Linked DNA regions of Homo sapiens: all the other regions are linked to region 3. The links are contacts of gene promoters, found by promoter capture Hi-C in blood cells and fetal thymus (Javierre and others, 2016). All regions are on one chromosome and are shown on one strand. The core of a region is centred on a gene start or on the middle of the fragment in contact, and the rest is flanking DNA. Distances in the headings are between cores, read along the strand shown.

Region 1 (2,908 bases), core at 38-2,537, 350 kb before region 3:
CTGCCTTTCCCTGTGTGCCTGTGTTGTTTTTCTTGTTTACTTAAGTACTGGGGAAGAGAGACCTCAGGAAATCTGTGGGCCTATGTTACACGAAGTAGCCATACCACACTGGATAATCTGCAATGTGAATAACCAAGAATTAGGCAAACCTATTGTGAGACCTTTACCTTATTCCATTTTCACAACCTGGAAAGGTGGATGCTAAACTGAAAACAGGTTTGGCTAGCTGCTCAGTTATTGTAGTGTTCTATAATTCTTCCTGTAAAAGACTTTATATCAAAGGAATCCCTTTGCAAAGTAGACTTAGCAAGAATGGAGGCTAGAATAATAAAAAACAGGTATAAAATAGGGGTAGTAAACGTGTTTTTACAGATTATTCAGTGAATCTGTTAGCCCAAAACCAGACACTCGTTCTCAGTCTGCTACCTGCCCCTTCTATCCCTTAAATTTCTACTTTTCTCATTCTAAAACTTTTTATAAATAATGGAGATTGGGGATGTTTGTTTATAATACACTGTGAACATCTTTTCCTTGTCAGTATACTTCTACAACGTAATTTAATGGTAGCAGTAATATTCTCTTTTCTGGCTATCTCGTAACTTAACCATTTGCTCTTAGTGACTAATCGAAGTAACTATGGGCAGTGGAGCCCTGATGAAATACAGGGAAGGACATTGAGATGCCTCAGGAGGAGATTCAATTTAGTAAAGATTTAAAATAGCTGTTCTCTTTAAAGTGGCATACCTTCCCCCTCGGGTATATCAGAGTAACTCTTCCTATTAAGTTTCTTCAGCTGATTGTATGGAATAATTGAAAATTGTGAAAGAAATGTTCCCGCCATTGAGATTTTCTACTGCCTCCATATTCATTTATCTGCATTTTAAAGGATAGCATTTGTACACCAGTCAGGAAAACTTCATAAGGAGGATAAGTGATTAGATATTTTAAATAGTAAATGGAGTTCACTGGTCAGAGATTGGAATTGGGAGGGAAAATGGCTGAAGAGAAACCACACATTTCTAAGCCCTTGGGGTGAGTTTAGATCCTCATTAGTCTCATGGAAAATGGGGATATTTGTAACTTGATTACTAAATGAGCTGTAAAAATAGACTTCCTGCTGCCTTTGAATGTGTTTTAAATGATAAATCTTCAATCTCTAAAAGCATGTGCGTAAGTACTTTCCTTTTGTAATGTGGAAGTTTTAAGAAGGAACTACAGTATTCAGCTGAGTTTAAAACAAAAACTGAAAAGAACTGGCTTAGTAAGAAGAGGCTTGCTAGTTTAAGAAGAGGCAGTAAATGAGAATCAAGATTATATAAATCTGCTCAATTCCTACCAGTAACATTTCAGTTTACCCAAAGCTGCTAGCAGTGTTATGCATAATTTACTGCATATATTAATATGGAGCATGAGGATGGGACAAATCAGTCACACCATCTTCAGGGCTGCACAAAACTTAAGGATACAAACATGACCTGTACCATAAAGTAAGTCAGATGGTGGTTCTTCTAAATTAGAATCTTCTTGGATAAGTCAGCAATAGTTTGCCTGTATTCAAAATGGAAAATCTGAGGGTTTCTGATTTAATCCTGAAACTGAGTGTAATTACTTAAAATTTGGAAATAAAATGTAGATATTCCCCTATATTAAAGCATTAAGGCTTTTATATCTGTTTCATGACATTTTCAAGATCAGAAACACTGAGTGGAACTTTTGACATGATCTGTTTCTGCAATTTCAGGGAAATTACCAAAGTATCACAAGGGACATGAATGGGTAGTGGTTTCAAGTCTACTTGAGTCAGATGTGAAGTGCTAGGCATTATACCTTAACGATAAAACTAGGGCTAGGTGCAGTGGCTGATTGATGCCTATAATCCCAGCACTTCGGAAGGCCGAGGCTGGAGGATCACTTCAGCCCAGGAGTTCAAGAGCAGCCTGGGTAACAGGGAGACCCTGTCTCTAGAAAGCTAAAATTTCAAAAAGGATTGAGGGAATACTTGATAATTTGTGGATTTGGCTAATGCCCAACATGTGTAAATTAGCCAGGTTTATTAGGTGACAGGAGAATGTGATCATAGAGTTAATAAATAGCAATACCTATTGAAAAATTATTAGTATTGTTGAAGTAAAATTTTCTGAAAGACCATTTAAAACAACAGAGAAATACTGGACAGATAGACTGTGTTGCCCAGGCTGGCCTCAAGCGATCCTCCAGCTTCGGCCTCCCAGAGTGCTAGGATTACAAACATGAGCCACTGTGCCCAGCCTACTTAGGATGTTTTTTAAAAAATCCTGGAAGCTCTAGTTATCTAGAGGCTAGGCAGATCTTTCTAAGTTTGTGTCATCAGTGGATGGGTGAAGGTTCTCAGAATTCATATTCTGAGAGCTGCCATCTCATTTGAATTTGAGAAAGCAAACTCCAAAATCTGCTTCTCTTGGACTGTTCCCAGTGGCTTTTCTTGAACCACACATAATCCAATGAAAAGATCTTATTCTCATGACTAGAAACTTGTGAGAACTCTTGAGTCAGTCGTCTTTTATGTTTTCCTAAGCAGGTGATTCCAAGTGCTTTTTCAAAAATGCATCCTTATGTTGAAGATTGTATTTGTGGTCAAGGATTTCAGAAATGGTCCCTTTTCTTTGCTAGTAGGCAAGCTTTTTTGATGTTCCTATTACTTTAGATGGTGCCCTTATCTTTTTAACTTTCCCCAGGAATAGCATCCTTCTGCCATCCCTTCCACCGTCACCACTACTTAGACACCCTTAGGTGCCACCCCTTCCCGAGAAAAGATAGAATCAGGACTCCACACCTCTCTCCCCCTGGGGTCTTAAAATCCAAGTAGACCAATGAAGGGAATTTAGTGTGTCACCTTTTAGAGTACATCTGATTTTTCAGTCATTTCCTA
Region 2 (2,700 bases), core at 65-2,564, 370 kb before region 3:
TTCAGACTGCCTGATGATTGGCACTTACAGACACTGTTCAAAGCTGGACCTTTCAATTGAAAGGTAGCTTATGCTTGTCGTTCTTCTGGTTAATGAGTTTCAGATTCCTGGATTGTTTGGTTTTGGCGATACTTAGAGTAATAATCCAGGAGAAAACTTTTGTTTACATGGGATAAAATTACAACATCTCAATTTGGATCAGAATGAGTTGACCATTCATGTAAGAACACTGAGGAATCGCTATGTACCAAGCTTGTATTTTGCCAGGTTTTGAGTTTGTGGTATTGAGAATGTGAAGTTAATTCAGACTTTCTGCCCTTAAGAAGATAACAGTCTAATAAACAGTAGAATGGCACTAACTATAGTGTATTTAGTATGACAAAGTCTCAGGTAAGAGAACATCTATGGAGAGGGCCTTGGAAAATGGGTAGGAAGGAGTCTAACAAATGGAGATTGAAAAACTGTGGAGGAACAATGTGAGGAGGGGTGTGGAGGACTAGCCTAGGTATAATTGCCAAGTAGTGTTGTTTTGATACTTGAGGTCTGTAAAGGGGAGTGGTGGAAAAGGGGGAAGGCAGGCGTTCACACCAGAATGTGAAGAAGCCTGAATGCCATATGAAGATGCCACTTCTCAGGACAAGTTGCTTCCGTGTGCTTATGGTAACAGTCTAGGGTAACAAAGGAAGAAAACATTTACGTGCCAGTTTTACTGAAGGACAAGATAACATATTTTATAGATTTAGTTTAATACAAACTTTAGTCCTTCATTATAGTAGACACCCCTTAAAGCACTGCTAAATGGCCCTTACTTGTGTATGTTGTTAATCTTTATAGAAATCAGTTTTTTAAAAGTAAAGTGAATTCCAAGTTTTTATTTTGTACCAGCTATTACGTGATAGGAAATGAGATAAAGCCTTAGTTTTTCTTTTGAGGGCTGTGTTTATTTGGTTAATAAGGAAATGTTGAATTTAATTATGTCTTAGATCATGGAGACAAATTGCTGGCTCTTCCATTTAAACCTTGTATTTTCCCAGAGTTGACAATACTGTTAAAAGTATGTCATCATCCTCTATCTTAAAAGCAGAAAATCTGGTCCTTTTGCTGTTCTGAACCATACAACTTGTGGATCATTGACCCCTTTGCCACCCCCATGTCCCAGCAGCATAGTAATAAACCTGTAAAGTGTTTGCTCACTCGTATGGAGAACGAAGTGACTTCTAATGTTCACATTCTTTTACAGTATTATATTTCCCCACGGGAGAGAATCTGTCCTAAGTAAGTAAAACAGGGCAAATCATTTCATTTTCTTGTTTGCTTTGAAGGAGCTAAACTTTCATCCTTAAGATTAAATTATCCATTTCTGCCATTTTATGTATTACCTGAAGCCATAATTTTCTATTTGACATCTCTTAATTGATTTTGGAAATAATTATGTCACAGATGGAGACATTTATGACTTCAGCTCTGAAGCAAAGAGCAGGACAAATGGAATTCTGAGTCACATAGACTAGCAACTCATGTAGATGGCCTCTGAGTTCCAGTGTTTTTCTAAAACACAAACTACCGCTTTTGATACTGATGAAAGTTGGCAGAGTGTTTGACCTCGAATTTATACTCCCCAGTAGCATATGGTCATTTGTAAATGTTAAATTGGCCTTGTTTTTTAAAGCATTGCATCTGTTGTGAAACAACAATACTGTAAAATAAAGCCAGGAACTGAAGAGGCTTGTTGATATAATCAAAGAAGTTTTAGAATATGGACATCAAAAATAAACCTGACAACAGATTTTAAGACCTAATTTTATAAACTTAGAACGTCTCTGTTTTTAAGTATAGTACCTGCAAGACATATTAACAGTGATTAACAGGTCTAATTTTAGTCAGCAGGTTTTGTTCCAATTTGTACAGTCATTTATATCCATTTAGACTAAAAAGTGAATTAAAATAGAACTGTATACCCATTCTTAATACATTATAAATTAATACTAAATGTCATAAATTCAGTTGTTTAGAGACTTGTAACCCAAGATTTTGTATTACTATTAGGATAAATGTGTATCTTTCATTAGACTTTAATTAATGGTCTATGTGTGTTCTCTAGCCACATAGTCTAGAAAAGTCGTCTCTAGCTTCTTTTTATTGTACACCCTGTCCAAAAAAAATGTGCATACTCCCAATATCTGGATATTTATGTATGAATAGTAAGTGTGCTTAATATATTACACATTATAAAACAAAATTCTTTATTAACAATTAATACTTTACACTGTTTCAATTTGTCTTCCCAATTTCTTAGGGTGGAACCACCCTTCAAGCTCTAACACAACTGAAATAGGGTTTATACGTCTGTGACCAGGAGAAAAAGAGAAAGCTTGGTCTTGCTGTACATAAATTTTCTCTTCAAGGAGAAGTACATATTTCATGAGAATAAATAGTTTCAGAATGATGCTACAGCACAGTGTCTTTTTCTTTTATGGGGATGAGGGTGCATTGTTGGACTTCTCTTTGCTTAGTACTATGTTAGGTGCTTCACCAGTGCCGTTTAACCCTGCTAGGTGGTTACTGCCGTTTAGAGAGGTAGAAACAGAGGTTCTGAGAGCTAACTTGCTCAAATAGTTGAGATTGGATTTAGCATAGTTTGACATCAGAAATAAAATTCTTTGTACTCTACATTGCCACTTCAGTATTGAAGCATTCTGC
Region 3 (2,893 bases), core at 342-2,841:
ACAAAGGAGATTTTGCAGAGAATCTTTACAATCATACTTTGGGCTTCCTTTCTCCAGTCTCCTCTGTTCTTCGGATAATCTTATTACCTTTTTGGTCATTCTAAGCACTACATGGATTAGTTCAGTATATAGATTATGGCCGTATAAACCTCATTCTCGCTCTTGGCAGATAACCTAACTCTGGTTTTACTGAAAAGATTAAAGCTAATTTGGAAGAATTGAACTCGCCCATTCCTCTCAGTTTTGTGTTGATGTATCTTCATCTCTGTGGCTGCCTCCCAGTTGCAGGCAGAGGCAGCCATCTTTCTTCCTCCTCCAGAGCTAACCCTTTCCCTCGTGCCCTTGATGCCCCCTCCACCTCTTCCTATTACCACTACTTGGCACCAGCCACATATTAGGGCTCCCTTGCAACCACTTTCAAACAAGGCCAGGCTTTATTCCATTTCAAAAAGCACACAAGAAAACCAAAATGCTTTTGCCTGACCTTGCTGTCTCTTCTAGTCTATTTATTGCTTTCCTTTTGCAGCAAGACATCTCAATTTCCTCTTTCCTCATAGCCCCTTAGTTTTGCAGTCTAGCTTCCTTTCTCTGTCACTCTATTGAAATTGTGTCCTCAAATGTCACAGTGGTTCCCTTGTAACTTAATCTGAAGAGGGTGGTGTTTTAGCCTCATTCTTCTTATTTTCTCAGCAGCATCGATTTTCTTTCTGCCTTTTTCTTTCATCTTCCACTCTGACATAGTTCTCTGGTTTATATTTTTCTGTTTATCTCCTGGGTTTTCTAGACCAGTCCAGTGCATAGCATCATGGCTGAGTCCAAGCTCTTACATTAGCCTGCCTGTAGCTGAATTTTAACTGCCACAAATTAACTGCATGACCTTTGTCAAGGTAATCTCCCTGTGCCTCAGTTTCTCCAGCCTTAAAATGGAGACTATAGTAGGAGTATTAACCTTTGGTTTGATGTAACAATTGAATGAGATAGTCTATGTAATATTTATCACAACATTTGGCACACAGAAGTTTTAATTGAATGTTATCTATTAGCATAACAATAAGTGCCTCTGTCTTTGAAAATATAACTGTTCTTTTTTCCTTTCAGGACATATTTTCTCCCTTTATGACCCAATGCAGAGCGAGACGATAACTAATTATTGTTAAATAGATTTATGCACGTGTTTGGAGAGTCAGGGAAGGAGGGCTGATGAGAGAGAGAGGCTCCTAAATTCTGCAGGTGCTGTAATTCCCCGGTTTTAATTTTGCTTTGCTTTTTACCAATAAATCATTTTGAGAGCTTAAATCGCTCCTTTCGGGACATACGGTGTTTCTTGAGCAGGAAGGGACGTCAACGGTTAAAGCTCTTGTTGTTGGTGCAACAATCAGCCACGATGAGGCTGCTTGGCATGGAACACAGTGTCCCATCCTTAGATTAAATGCGCTCTAACAGGATTATGTAAGGAAGGAGGCAGCCACGGCGGCGGCTTTGTGCAGGGGTCGCCTGGAACCCGTCCATTGAGTCATGCCGCCATCTCGCGGCCGCATGGGGAACGGGCCTTGGCAGGGAGGTTTTGTTTGGTGCAGAGGAAAGGTCCCCAGAATTGCCATCTGCAGAATTTCTGCAGAAAGTGTCGACCAGGCTGGCATGAGGGAAGAAGGAGGGGAAATCACAGCAAGGAGAAGGAAAAACACCTCAGCATGGCGTGGGGAAGCAAAGGTAGCAAGTCATGCTTGTGCCACCCTACAATATTCTTGTCGGTTTCATTCCAGAACAATTCCCTCCCCTGCCCAAATACTCTATAAACTTTGACTTTCCCCTCTTATTTGATTCTCACTTTCCAACACTCTGTGCCGACCCGTTATCCTGGACAGACCCTGCGTCACCTCCTAATTTCCCTTCTTGTATGTTAGGAATTCAGGGCTGGGAAAATTTAGCCGAGTCATCACATTTGGCTACTACCCGGGAAAGCAGCCCTCCCGAGTCAGGAACGGGCTCCGGTTCATCACGTGGCAGCCGCCTGCAGGAGCCGCAGGTAAGGGACACTGTTGGCCGGGGCAGCCAGATGCAGCGGGAGGCGTCCTGGCTGCACTTGGGTTCCCAAAACCTTTCTGGAATGTCACTCTGGTCACCAGTATGGGAGCTCGACCTCTAGGGGGTAGGATTTGGTAATGTTCTCTTTGTAAAACTGAAGTGGGCAATGTTGACCAGGAAGCTGATTTTGTTTGCTTTTCACAAACTATGTTAATCGATCAATAGTTGGGTTATAGATCATTCTATTGTCAGCAATATAATAGAATGGCAGGGACTCAGGGAAGATATTGACACTTTAAACTGAAATGTCTATGCGGTCTGTCTTCCCTCGTTCAGCTCACAGGACATTGCCTGGGAGCTGAACCTAGGCTTATAGCACAGTGACTGAAAGGATATCTTTCAGAGTCCTAAAATCTGCTCTGCCAGTATTTGACTTTGAGTTAATTGTTCAACATTACTTTAAGCCCAGTTTCTTCTTTTCTAAAATGAAGACGATTTTTTTAATATTAATTTTTTTTTTCATTTTTTTGAGACAGGGTCTTGTTGTGTTGCCCAAGCTGGGGTGCGGTGGCCCGATCTCGGCTCACTGCAACCTCTGTCTCCTGGGTTCAAGTGATTCTTCTGCCTCAGCCTCCTGAGTAGCTGGGACTACAGGTGTGCACCACCATGTCTGGCTAATTTTTGTATTTTTAGTAGAGGCGGGGTTTCACCATGTTGCTCAGGCTGGTCTTGATCTCCTGACCTCAAGCAATCTGCCTGCCTCAGCCTCCCAAAATGCTGGGATTTATAGGCATGAGCCACCACACGCAGCCTACTATTGTCATTTATAAGTTCAGTGTTGGAAGGATTTTTAAGCAATCTAACAGTT

What was found. Contacts are between HindIII fragments. The CHiCAGO score rates a contact against its expected background, and 5 or more counts as called.
Region 1: a contact is called between a fragment that was not itself captured here and the fragment with the promoter of MRO in region 3, in 1 of 17 cell types (neutrophils). The highest score is 5.9, in neutrophils.
Region 2: a contact is called between a fragment that was not itself captured here and the fragment with the promoter of MRO in region 3, in 1 of 17 cell types (neutrophils). The highest score is 6.2, in neutrophils.

Annotation. Positions count from the first base shown.
Region 1 is chr18:51,170,340-51,173,247 of GRCh38, reverse strand. No RefSeq gene overlaps it. Among named protein-coding and RNA genes, the nearest start is that of MEX3C, 26 kb to the left of the region's middle. The HindIII fragment of the contact is 2,745 bases long and covers 1-2,659 here.
Region 2 is chr18:51,192,659-51,195,358 of GRCh38, reverse strand. The region is part of intron 1 of MEX3C (mex-3 RNA binding family member C); the gene reads left to right. Among named protein-coding and RNA genes, the nearest start is that of MEX3C, 3.7 kb to the left of the region's middle. RefSeq lists a silencer at 366-660. The HindIII fragment of the contact is 2,119 bases long and covers 255-2,373 here.
Region 3 is chr18:50,818,714-50,821,606 of GRCh38, reverse strand. It overlaps MRO (maestro), which reads left to right and starts at 1,591. Exons shown (of 8, transcript NM_031939.6): 1 at 1,591-1,710; 2 at 1,905-2,026. RefSeq lists enhancers at 1,387-1,436, 1,273-1,906. The HindIII fragment of the contact is 17,012 bases long and covers 1-2,893 here.